Linked DNA regions of Homo sapiens: region 2 is linked to region 1. The links are contacts of gene promoters, found by promoter capture Hi-C in blood cells and fetal thymus (Javierre and others, 2016). All regions are on one chromosome and are shown on one strand. Each heading gives the region's core, a stretch centred on a gene start or on the middle of the fragment in contact. The rest is flanking DNA. Distances are from core to core; before and after follow the strand shown. Region 1 holds the start of ACTR6 (actin related protein 6). Region 2 overlaps WSB2 (WD repeat and SOCS box containing 2).

Evidence for each region. Contacts are between HindIII fragments. The CHiCAGO score rates a contact against its expected background, and 5 or more counts as called.
Region 2: a fragment that was not itself captured here is called in contact with the fragment with the promoter of ACTR6 in region 1 in 1 of 17 cell types (non-activated CD4 T cells); the score reaches 7.6 in non-activated CD4 T cells.

The regions. Positions count from the first base shown.
Region 1 is chr12:100,197,449-100,203,808 of GRCh38, reverse strand. ACTR6 (actin related protein 6) reads right to left here and starts at 2,994. Exons shown (of 11, transcript NM_022496.5): 1 at 2,890-2,994. The coding sequence starts at 2,957. RefSeq lists enhancers at 822-881, 513-1,198, 1,199-1,886, 2,731-2,930, 2,904-3,198 and a silencer at 3,691-4,050. The HindIII fragment of the contact is 11,223 bases long and covers 1,413-6,360 here.
Region 2 is chr12:118,054,459-118,060,818 of GRCh38, reverse strand. All of the region lies in intron 1 of WSB2 (WD repeat and SOCS box containing 2), which reads left to right. Among named protein-coding and RNA genes, the nearest start is that of WSB2, 3.5 kb to the left of the region's middle. RefSeq lists a silencer at 181-230. The HindIII fragment of the contact is 1,742 bases long and covers 837-2,578 here.

The DNA.
Region 1 (6,360 bases), core at 1,745-4,244:
CCTGGTGGCGGGCGCCTGTAGTCCCAGCTACTTGGAAGGCTGAGGCAGGAGAATGGCGTGAACCCGGGAGGCAGAGCTTGCAGTGAGCCAAGATCACGCCACTGCATTCCAGCCTGGACGACAGAGCGAGACTCCGTCTCAAAAAAAAAAAAAAAAAAAAAAAGATTCACAAGTTAAAAATTATGGCCATAAAAATTAAGTTTCCAGCCGGGAGCAGTGGCTCACAGCATGTAATCCCAGCACTTTGGAAGGCGGAGGCGGGCGGATCATGAGGTCAGGAGTTTAAGACCAGCCTGGCCAACATGGTAAAACCCCATCTCTACTAAAAAATATAAAAATTAGCTGGGCATGGTGGTGCATGCCTGTAATCCCACCTACTGGGGAGGCTGAGGCAGGAGAATTGCTTGAACCCAGGAGGCGGAGGTTGCAGTGAGCAGAGATTGTGCCACTGCACTCCAGCCTGGGCGACAGAGCAAGACTCTGTCTCAAAAAAATAAAATAAATTAAGTTCCCATGAAGCCAAAGATCTTCAATCAGCAAGATGCTATAGGGCAGGGATCCCCAACCGCAGGGCTTGTGGTCCGGTACCTGTCTGTGGTCTGTTGGGAACCAAGCCTTCATAGCAAGAGGTGAGCACCAGGGTGGGGAAGGAGGGTGGGGCCGTAAGCATTAACACCTAAATTGCACTTCCTGTCAGATCAGCCATAGCATTAGATTCTCATAGGAGCAGGAACCCTATTTTGAACTGTGCATGCAAGGGATATAGTTTGTGCACTTTTTTTGTGAGAATCTAATACCTGAGAATAGTTTCATTTCAAAACCATCGCCCACACTCATACCCCCAACCACACGTTAAAATTGTCTTCCACGAAACCAGTCCTTGGTGCCAAAAAGGTTGGAGACTGCTGCTGCTACAGGGTACAGAAGTAGCAACTTTTTTTTTTTTTTTTTGAGACCGAGTCTCGCTTTGTCGCCCCAGGCTGGAGTGCAGTGGCGTGATCTCGGCTCACTGCAAGCTCCGCCTCCCAGGCCCACGCCATTCTCCCGCCTCAGCCTCCCAGGTAGCTGGGACTACAGGCGCCTGCCACTACGCCCGGCTAATTTTTGTATTTTTAGTAGAGACAGGGTTTCGCCGTGTTAGCCATGATGCTCTGGATCTCCTAACCTCGTGATCCACCCACCTGGGCCTCTTGCTGCTTGCCATGAGCTTACAATCTGGTTTGGAAGACAAACTAGAGCCATTATTAATTATACACACATGTATGCATACAAATGTGTCTGTATGTGTATACGAGATGACACTGGGATAATACTGTAAAAAAATGTTTTACACCTGCTTATTTCACTTATAATACTGTCAGCATTTTCTCTACATGTTTAAATGTTCTTTGAAGACATAATTTTAAGAAGCTTGAATTTGTTATCAGTCTCAGGTTGTATTTTGGTGTATTTAGCCAATATGCTATTCCTGATTATTTAGCTTCCTTCCCATTTTTTGGCTGCCTGTATACGATGACTATGAATAATACAAAGCACTTCTAATTAATTCTCTAGGTAATAACAGAATTGCTGTGTCATGGCCCGGTGCGGTGGCTCACACCTGTAATCCCAGCACTTTAGGAGGCTGAAGCAGGCAGATCACGAGGTCAGGAATTCCAGACCAGCATGGCCAAAATGGTGAAACCCCCGTCTCTACTAAAAATACAAAACTTAGCCAGGCGTGGTGGTGCGCAACTGTAGTCCCAGCTACTTGGGAGGCTGAGGCATGAGAATGGCTTGAACCCGGGAGGCAGAGGTTGCAGCGAGCCGAGATCGTGCCACTGCACTCCAGCCTGGACAAGAGAGCCAGACTCCCTCTCCAAAAAAAAAAAAAAAAATTGCTTTGTCAGCTGGGTGTAGGGCTCACGCCCCTAATACCAGCACTTTGGGAGGCCAACGCGGGTAGACTGCTTGAGGCCAGGGGCTCGAGACCGGCCTGGCCAACATGATGAAACCCCGTCTCTAACAAAAATACAAAAAATTCGCTGGGAGTGGTGGTGCACGCCTATAATCCCAGCTACTCTGGAGGCTGAGGCGGGAGAATCACTTGAATTCAGGCTGCAGTGAGCTGAGATCGCACCACGGCACTCCAGCCTCGGTGACAATGATAATGATACACATTGCCAAAACGTTTTCCAGAAAGATTGTAACAATTTACATTCCTACTCAGTTTGATTTCCCTCTTTCATTTCTGTTTCAAAAGAAATGAAAAAGAAGGAAAGGAGGGAGGAAGGAAAGAATTTTTTTTAATGCTCTGTTAATTTGATAAAGGAAAGGCGTGTCTTTAGGTTTGCTTATTTATTCAAACATATATTTTATGACTATACATGTTATGAATGCCATTGTATTAACAGTACTTCTGTTTAATTGACCTTACCAACTAGGTCGGCCAGTAGGCCAAAGTCTTCAAAGCCTCTAGATCCTAAGACCGTGATTTTTAGACTTTTGGAGGGTCATAGAACCCTTTGAGAATCTAATGAAACCTATAATCTTGTACCCAGGAAAATCCGCATACACCCAAACACCGTGCCCATAGTTTCCAAAGGCTGATGAACTTTACGGACCCTTCTGTCAGGAACGCATCTCTATAAGCCTATTTTCTTTGGCTATTTCCTGTTACGAAATAAAACATATATCCCACTTCCGGGGCCTCGCAGCCCAAAACTAAAACCAAAATCAATTTCAATTCAAAGCATCACAATCACCCACCCAGCTCCAACCAGGGAATCCCTCTGGCTAAGTCAGGGCCGCGCGGGGGTGTCTGCAGTTCATTGATGTCCGGAGATGAAACGTAGCACATGAAACCACTAGGCGTATATATCTTGTCCCTCGGAGAAAGAAAGTACTTACGACACATTTTCATGGCTGTAACCGATTTTGGCGTTGTAAGCTCCATTATCCAGCACTAAGGTCGTCATCTCACCACCAACCACACCGCAGCCGTAGTTGTTTTCCCTTTCCGACCCCTCTGCTCGAGCTTTTTCCGGTACTCTATGGTTTGTTGGGCGGAGCGTTAGGACGCGCCTCTGGTCACCTTAGCAACGGAGGACGCCGGAAGTCGGAGATGCTAAGCAGCACCGAATGTTAGGGGCTGTGCTTCCAAACTTAACCTGTTTATGTGGTGGCGAGATTTGACTACTATGTGCTTTCTCGCTCATTTCGTATTTGTTTTTAACTACGCAGATTAATTCGCGCAAGTTTTTTCTAATCCTGTAGAGAACCGGCTGCGTGTGTGTGTGTGTGTGTGTGTGTGTGTGTGTCTTCCAATCGCATTCTTCAGACGGTGACATTCTTTGAAGAAAAAAGTGCAAAACTTGCTCTTGGACTCACATTCATACTCTCCTCTTCCCCAGCCCACTTGCTCTTCAGGACGAAGCTGAGTGAGTCTTTCTCATCCAAAAAAGGCTTTTGGGCCGGACGCGGTGGCTCACGCCTGTAATCCCAGCACTTTAGGAGACCAAGGCAAGCAGATCACTTGAGGTCAGGAGCTTGAGACCAGCCTGACCAACACGGCGAAACCCCGTCTCTATTAAAAATACAAAAAGTAGCCGGGCGAGGTGGCGGGCGCCTGTAATCCCAAGTACTCGGGAGGCTGAGGCGGGAGAATTGCTTGAACCGGGGAGGCGGAGGTTGCAGTGAGCCGAGATGGCTCCACTACACTCCAGCCTGGGCGACAGAGCGAGACTCCGGCAGGGCGGGGACTTGGCAGGTGCGGGAGGCAGGACCTGGCTTCCGGGGCGTCGCGGGGGCAACGGCCAGCGGGCGGGGGCAAGGGCCAGCGGGCTAGGACAACTGCCAACGGGCTTGGAGGGGGGCGTTCTACAAATTCCAGGCCACTTTGAGCGCCTGAGAGAGGAGCGGGGCGGCGGGAAGGGGGCACCGCGGGGGCAGGGAGCGCAGCAGCCGCAGCGCGAAGGCGCGGGGGCCGGGGAACAAACGGTTGGCGCGCAGGCAGCCATACCGGGGCCGGAACCCGGGCAGAGGAGGGCAGCGACGGCGATGGGGAGGCTGCAGAGCCCGGGGCGGGTACCGCGCGGGAACCAGCGCGACTGCGTGGCTACCGCAGCCGTCGGTTCGTGTTGGACGGGCGCCGCTGCTGCCTCTGCTACTTCAAGAACCCCCACGACCCGCTGCCCCTCGGCCACCTGGACATAGCAGAAGCCTGCTTCAGCTACCAGCGCGCCGACGAGGCGGCGGAGCAGCCTGCGCACTTCCAGGTGCGCAGCGCGGGAGCCGCCACGGTGCTTGAGGTGGGAACTCGCGCCCTGCAAGCGCCTGGGCCCTTCTGTCGGCGCTCCTTGCCTCCCCTGGGGGCCTGCCCCATCCACCCTCCTTTCTCCAAGGCCTCCTCGCACCCTGCCAACGTCGGCCTGCCTTTCCCCACTTCTCCACATCCCGTCCTCGTTCCTATCTCCTCCCCTCCACCTGGGCTTAGGCCCGGGTGGCTGGGGCTACCCAGCCCAGTCTCCTTCCTCAGACACTTTGACCCATTATCTCCCTCTGCTCCTTCCCTCTGACCCCTCTCTAGTGTCTTCTCACCCCCAGCATCCCGTGGATGTCCGGTGCAGCCCTCCCAAGCATTCATAACCGTAGGCTTCTGCCCCAGGGGCCTCCTTTAGAACTCTGCTAGGACCTTGGTACATCAGTTAACCGCTCTGCCCTTCAGCGTCCTCTAAAATGAGATAGCAGTAGTATCTATATCATGGGGTGTTGAGATTAAACTAATTATACTCTAAACTGCTCAGTAAATGTTAGTACATTTATTTTATTTTTATTTATTTGTTCTTTTTGCCATAGGATCTCGCTCTGTTGTGCAGACTGAAGTGCAGTGGTGTGATTTCAGCTAACTGCAGCCTCATGCCTGGGCTCAAGTGATCCTCCCACCTGAGCCTCCCACCTGAGCCTCCCAAGTATCCGGGACCACAGGTGCAGGCCCACGCCTGGCTAATTTAAAAAATGGTTTTTGTGTGTGTGTGTGTGTGTGTGTGTGTGTGTGTGTGTGTGTGTGTGTGTAGATGGGGGTCTCGCTATGTTGCTCAGGCTAGTCTCGAACTCCTGGGCTCAAACCATCCTCCCCACCCATCTTCCTGGGATTCCAGACGTGAGCCACAGTGCATTTAGCACTATAGACAAAAAGAGTCAGAAATGGCAGGGCCCTTAGAGATATTCCACTACATTTCCTCCGAGAGTGGGCAGGGATGCTCCAGCTAAGGTCACACAGCCAGTAAGTGGCAGACCCTCTTTTCTTGCTCCTTGTTTTGTCCAGGAGAGGTGGGAGGGGGTCACTTCAGCCAGTTAGGCCTTGCTCTTTGAGGCTCTTTTAATCCTCCAGCGAAGAGACATAATGGGAAAAATAATGCAGAAGCAGGAGAGTAGAGTGAGGAGTCCTGGTGCTGAGAGGCCTCCCCTTTCCTTGGGAGTCCTTAGCGGGCTAGACTCTGTCACCTCCGAGGGGTCCACCTGCTTCGAGCACATAGAGGGATCTGGGCCCAGGCCTGGAGCCCAGTATCCTTTCTCCAGGCTGTGCTCCCTGCCTGGCTCCTGTGAACCTCCACCTTCTCTCTCATTCCTCTTCCGCGCTGCAGGCTCGGCTTTCTCCAGGGCAGCAGGGTTGGGCTGGGATGTATGAAAGCACTCTCAAAGCTGGCCACGCGGAGAGCAGAGTAGGCAGGCTCTTGGCCTTATGAGCACAGGACTGTTCCTCAGACCCCCAGAGCTGCTAACAGCTGCAGCTGCCCCCGGAGATGTTCTCAGAGCTTTGTCGACTCAGCTTTTGCCAATTCAAGCAGGATCTGATTCCCATGTTCTCTCGGGCTCCTCTGTCCTGTCTGTAAGTGGGTGCAGACAGCCTGTTTCCCCGAAGGAAGCCAGCCAGGGTTGCAGTCCTACTCAGGCTTACTTTGCGCCTGTATAAACATGGGAATGACCCCGGTGGAAGACCTTTGCCAAAGGTAGAGGCTCTTCCTCAGTGTATACATGGACTGTCCCCATGTCAGGTGAATTTCCTGTAGGATATTTGTTAACAAAGAAAATAGAGCGTCATGTTTCAGATTTTTCTCAGATGACTGTAAAGCCCTATATGGGTTACAGGGCATATTGTCAGGAGCATGGCTTTAGACTTGGATGGGCTTGAACTTGAAGCAGGATCCTGCTGCTCACATGTACTGGACAAGTTATACCACGTCCCAGTTCCTCTTTGGTCTTCTCATTCCTCATCTTCAATGGGAATCTTACCTTCCTCATTAGTGGCTGTGAGGATTCTGGAGAATGTTATGGAAATGGCTGGCACATTTTCCATAGTGGTACGGAAAGTAGTAGGCA
Region 2 (6,360 bases), core at 458-2,957, about 18 Mb before region 1:
TCCCGCCGGCGACAGGATCGGGAAGATCGGGCTTCTGCGGGAGGAGATCCCCCGACCGGGACAGAGGGGGCTCCCGGGTGGGACTCGGGGCGGGGGGCACCAAGCCCTAAAACGGAGATCCCCAAGGGGGTGGGTGCCCCTGGGTACCCAGGTGCCAGGGGACGCACTTGCATGTCTGGATGGGAGTCACCTCTGTCCCTCACAAGCTGTGTGATCGTGACAGTGGACAAGCCACTGAACCACCGCCACCCACGTCTCAGTTTTGATCTGCAAAATGGGATAATCCTAGTACCTTCCTCGGAGGGTGGCTGGGACCCGGTAAAAATGGGGTCTGGGGTCTGGGTTCCCTATTGAAACAATCTATTCCCAGCCTCTCCCACTGGAGATTAAGTCAGTGGAGGTGGGGCGGGACTGGAGACGCTGATCCCTGGTGACATGTATGATCAGGCAAATTTAGGATACACTGATGGGTGGGGACCTTGCCTCTATTCTTGTTAACTGCCATCCCCATCAGAAGACAGCGTGGAAGTCAGAGGATATTGGATATACCTCAAGCCAGCCCAGATGAACATAAAATCTCAGTGGGAAAGGTGTGTCTCTTATGCAAGGGGAAAAAAACCCCAAGACGCATGCACGCCTTGGCCCTCTCCCCTCCAACGACCTTCCCTCGGAACCCCACTTGGGATAGATTTAGAATTGATTCCGGGAGTCCCAGGTCTTGAAGGACCCGAGTTTAAATGTAATTTCCTTAGGAGAAATTTTCAGAGCAGGTTCAAGGCCTAGGGCTCAGAATTTGTTCCAGAACTTCATGGTAATCTTGCAGCCAAGTTCAAGCTTCATCCTGGTCTGGAGGGTTCTGATTGCTGATGGCTTGTTACTGTGGGTGGGAAGGTTGAAATCTGGGTATTCCCTGGGGTGGTGTTACTTTTTAATTTAGGAAATGACATTTCTTTGTTTGCTGAAGTCAGGCATTGAGTTAAAGGCAGCTCTCTCTCCTTCCCATCTAGATAAGGGCTTTCTTTTCAGTGAGTGTTACCCGTAGAATTCTTTTTAAAAGGGCCCCTACTGTTTGTGTAGATCCTATGTGAATCTTTTTATAGCTTCCGTTTGATTTCCATTGCCTCCTTACAGTTCAATCTGAAAGCAATCTGTAGCTAGCCTGCCTTTTTAACAGAAATCTGTTTCCAGTTCTGGGGTTTTCCTAAAGATTGACAACTTCGTTTTGAGGGTGTGGGCAGGGTTGTTGAGAGCTGCCAAGTTACTGTACAAAAAAGGCCAGAGTTTTAACTTATTTTCAAATGGAATAAAGCCCATTGTAAAGGAAATACAATGGGCAACAGTTGAAATCTTCAGAGCAATGGTTAGACTTCACTTATTCATTCAGCAAATATTTGTTGAACGTCTACTATGTGCCAGGCACCCTCTAGGCCAGCCCCGACCAACAGAAGTCTAATGTGAGCCACGTATGTAATTTAAAATGTTCAAGTAGCCACATTAAAAAAAAGAAAAAAGAACTAGGTGACAATTTAAAAACTCTTTCAATACAACATGTCTAAAATATTCCTGCTACATGTAATCAAATAAATTGTAATGTAATGTTTTAGATTTTTTTTTGTGCTAAGTGTTCAAAACGTGTTGTGTATTTTTTACTTACAGCCCATCTGAATTCTGACTTGCCACATTTCAAGTGGTTGGTAACCACATGTGATTTCCCTATTAGACAGTGTAGCCCAATAGCAGTGAACTGGCAAGTTTGGGTGGGTTCAGAAAGAGACAGACAATAAATACGTAAAAATGACAGGCAATCAAGAAAATATCAACCAAATGCGCCGGGGTGGCTCACGTCTGTAATCTCAGCACTTTGGGAGGCTGAGGCGGGCAGATCACTTGAGGCCAGGAGTTCGAGACCAGCCTCACCAACATAATGAAACTCCGTCTCTACTAAAAATACAAAATTAACCAGGCGTGGTGGTGCATACCTGTAATCCCAGCTACTCAGGAGGCTGAGGCAGGAGAACCGCTTGAACTGGAGAGGTGGAGGTTGCAGTGAACCAAGATCTCGCCATTGCACTCCAGCCTGGGCAACAAGAGTGAAACTCCATCTCAAAAAAAAAAAAAGAAGAAGAAAATATCTAAGTGATGGTTATAAAGAAAATCAAATGGTTAAAGGAAAGTGAATGGTGCCAGGCGCAGTGGCCCAGCAGTTTGGGAGGCCAACTTGGGTAGATCACTTGAGCTCAGGAGTTTGAGACCAGTCTAGGCAGCATGGCAAAACCCCATCTCTGCAAAAAATACCGAACTATAGGCGCGTGCATGGTAGAATGTGCCTGTAGTCCCAGCTACTGGGGAGGCTGAGATGGGAGGATCATCTGAGCCTGGGGAGGTCGAGGTTGCAGTGAGCCGTGATGGTGCTACTGCATTCCAGCCTGGGCAACAGAGCAAGACCCTGTCTCAAAAAAAATAAAAAATAAAAAAGGAAAGTGTATGGTCGCTTTAGATAGTGAGGCCAGGATGGTCTCTGAGAAGGTGACATGAGGACCAATCCCTGAATGATAAGATGGAGCAACTGAGGAAAGCTTTTGAGGCCGGTGGAATATCTAATGTACATGTCCTGATACAGGAAAAATCACCTAGCTTCCTGCTGGCTGGGGTCATAGCTTTCATCTCTGTGTTAAGGCTAACTGCTTTGCCTAGAAGAGGCTTATAATATATACCTTTCCATTCAGCCTGATTGTCCAAACACATCCCATTGTTTAATTAGAACACCCTGATCCAGGGCCAGGTGCAATGGCTCATGCCTGCAGGAGAATCGCTTGAGCTCAGGAGATCAAAACCAGCTTGGTCAACATAGCCAGACCCCCATCTCTACTAAAAATTTAATTTAAAAAAAAAAAAAATGCTGAGTGTGGTGGTACGCCCCCGTAGCCCGATACACAGGAGGCTGAGGCGGGAGGATCACTTGAATCTGGGTGGGAGATTGAGGCTGCAGTGAGCTGTGATTCAGCCACTGCACCCCAGCCTGGGTCTCAAAAAAAAAAAAAACCCAAATATATATATGAATATGATATACTTGAAATTTGCTAAGAGTAGATTTTAAGTGTTCTCACCACACAAAAATAAGTATGTGAGGTAATGCATATATGGTAATGAGCTTGACTGAGCCATTCCACAATGTATACATATATCAAAACATGTTATATTCCATAATATATACAATTTTTATTTATCAGTTTAAAAAAGAAGAGGCTGGACGCGGTGACTCACGCCTGCAATCCCAGCACTTTGGGAGGCCGAGGTGGGCAGATCACCTGAGGTCAGGAGTTCGAGACCAGCCTGGCCAAAATGGTGAAACCCCATCTCTACTAAAAATACAAAAATTAGCCAGGTGTGGTGGCGCATGCCTGTAATTCTAGCTACTCGGGAGGCTGAGGCAGGAGAATCACTTGAACCCAGGGGGCGGAGGTTGCAATGAGCCGAGATGGCGCCACTGCACTCCAGCCTGGGCAGCAGAGTGAGACTCTGTCTCAAAAAAAAAAGGAGAAAACAAAGAAACCCTGATTCATAGGCCTTTTCACCAAGAAGGATCTACAAGTACCATACCAGTTGAAGCTAGATACCCCACCCCCAGCTCTGTTTTTGTTTGTTTGTTTTGTTTTTAAGTTCTGCACTAATTAGGGCTTTCTCTCCGTGTAGCCAAGTTTAGTTTGGGCCCAGACTCCAAGAGACAGGAGTCACTGGGTTTGTTCTTCTTTTAGCTCCTGGATTCCTGAACCTGAAATAGCAAGAGATTAAATCCCTAAATCACAGAAATAGAGTGTGAATTCTGAGTAGGGCTTGTGTTTAAGAAGCATTTCATGTGAAATGTTTGGCATAAGCATCATCAGAGTTTAAGGGGCTTTATTTATTTTTTATTTTTTGGGGACAGAGTCTTGCTCTGTCACCCAGGCTGGAGTACAGTGGTGCAATCTTGGCTCACTGCAACCTGCACCTCCCGGGTTCAAGTGATTCTCCTGCCTCAGCCTCCCGAGTAGCTGCGACTACAGGCGCCCGCCACTATGCCCGGCTAATTTTTGTATTTTAAGTAGAGACGGGGTTTCACCACGTTGGCCAGGCTGGTCTTGAACTCCTGGCCCCAAGTGACCTGCCTGCCTCGGCCTCCCAAAGTGTTGGGATTACAAGCATGAGCTACCATGCCTGGCCAGCTTTATGTTACTTTTTTGTTTAAAGAGTTATACCATATGTATTTATTAGACAAATATTTACTCACTGCCTGCCCTCCACCAGGAACTCTGCCAGCTCTGGGGATAAATATACAAAGTTCTTGCTCCCTGGAGTTGATATCCTAGTGGAGGGGAGACAGATGGCGATCAAATGGTGATAGAGCTGTAAAGAAAATAAAGTGAGGGGTTGTGAAGGAGATTGACTAGGGGTCAGAAGAGTTCTCTAAGCAGTTGTCATTTGAGCCAGACCTGAATAAGAGTAGATGCCAGCCGAGGAGAGGCATTCCAGGTGAAGGGCATGGTTGGTGCAAAGGCCTAGGGTCAGAACTAATTGAGCATTGGCAGAGGGTAGAGAGAAGGGCAATGTGTTGGAGCCAGGGGCAGGGAGAGAAGTACAAGCCCAGGGAAGTTCAGATTATGCTGGATTTTGAGGGCAGGGTGAGGAGCTAGAGTTTTATTCTAACAGTGTTTGAAACTGACCACTCTGGAGGCAAGGAGAACCGATGGTGCGGGGCTAGAGGGGAAGCCGGGAGAGCAGCTGGAAGGTTGCCTACTGGGCCAGGCGGGAGATGATGCTGCATAGATGAGAGTAGAGATGGAGAGGGGTTAGATTTGGCAAGTCTTTTGTAAACAGACTTGATAGAACTTGCTAATGGATTTGGTTTGGGAGATTTAAAAAAAAAAAAACAGACGTGGTGGTTTACACCTGTAATCCCAGCACTTTGGGAGTCCGAGGTGGGCGGATTGCTTCAGTCTAGGAGTTTGAGACCAGCCTGGCCAAGATAGCAAAAACCTGTCTCTACTAAAAATACAAAAATTAGCTGGGTGTGGTGGTGCACGCCTGTAATCCCAGCTTCTTGGAAGGCTGAGGCATAAGAATTTCTTGAACCCAGGAGGCCGAGGTTGCAGTGAGCCGAGATTGTGCCATTGCAGTCCAGCCTGGGTGACAGAGTGAGACTCCATCTCAAAAAAAAAAAAAAAAAAAAAAAAAGGATAATGTAGAGGAAGTGAACCAATTGTGAATGTTATCAGGATGGAAAAAAAAAAGACATTTTCATCCTGGTCATTTGATCCGGAATTCCTGGTCTCAAGCAATTCTTCCACCTCTGCCTCCCAGAGCACTGGGATTACAGGCATGAGCCACTACCCCAGGCCATCCAGGTCATTTGAAAATGTTTCTCTAGATCAGTCAATGTCATTTAATACTTGACTGCATCTGGGTTTCTCAGCCTTGGCATTGTTGACATTTTGGGCCAGATGATTCTTTGCTGGGGGCTGTCCTGTGCGCTGTAGAGTGTTGAGCAGCATCCCTGGCCTCCACCCACTAGATGGCAGTAGTAGCAACTCCAGTTGTGACAACCAAAAATGTTACTGCCAAATGTCCTTAAGGGGCAAACTAGCCCCCAGTTGAGAACCCTGGGTCTATAGAAATAGCTATACACATGTGATTGTATAAATGAAACTGTCACACATACAAACATACAGATTTCTAGGAGGATTTACCTGGGTCTATACAAATAGCTATTTACTCAGACCATATATATAAAAATATATTTCTTTCTTTTTTCTTTTTTTTTTTTTTTAAAGAGATGGAGTCTTACCATGTTGACCAGGCTGGTCTTGAACTCCTGGCCTCAAGCTATCATCCCATCTCGGCCTACCAAAGTGCTAGGATTATAGGCGTGAGCCACCGTGCCTGGCCTAGACCTAATACATTAAACCCAAATTTACACATAGAACCTCTGAGAATGAATAGTCTCTTTACAAAGGCTTGATATGATTTATTAACATTCTATTTAAAGACAGAAACTTCAGGAACACACACCTATTTTATATAACAAGATATACCTATGTTATTATTTTCCTATAAATGCATATACTAGAATTATTATTATTATTATTATTATTATTATTATTTTTTGAGACAGAGTTTCACTCTTGTTGCCCAGGCTGGAGTGCAATGACACCATCTCAGCTCACCGCAACCTCTGCCTTCCGCCTCCCGGGTTCAAGCGATTCTCCTGCCTCAGCCCTCTGAGTAGCTGGGATTACAGGCATGCGCCACCAAGCCCGGCTTATTTTGTATTTTTAGTAGAGATGGGGTTTCTCCATGTTGGTCAGGCTGGTCTCGAACTCCCGA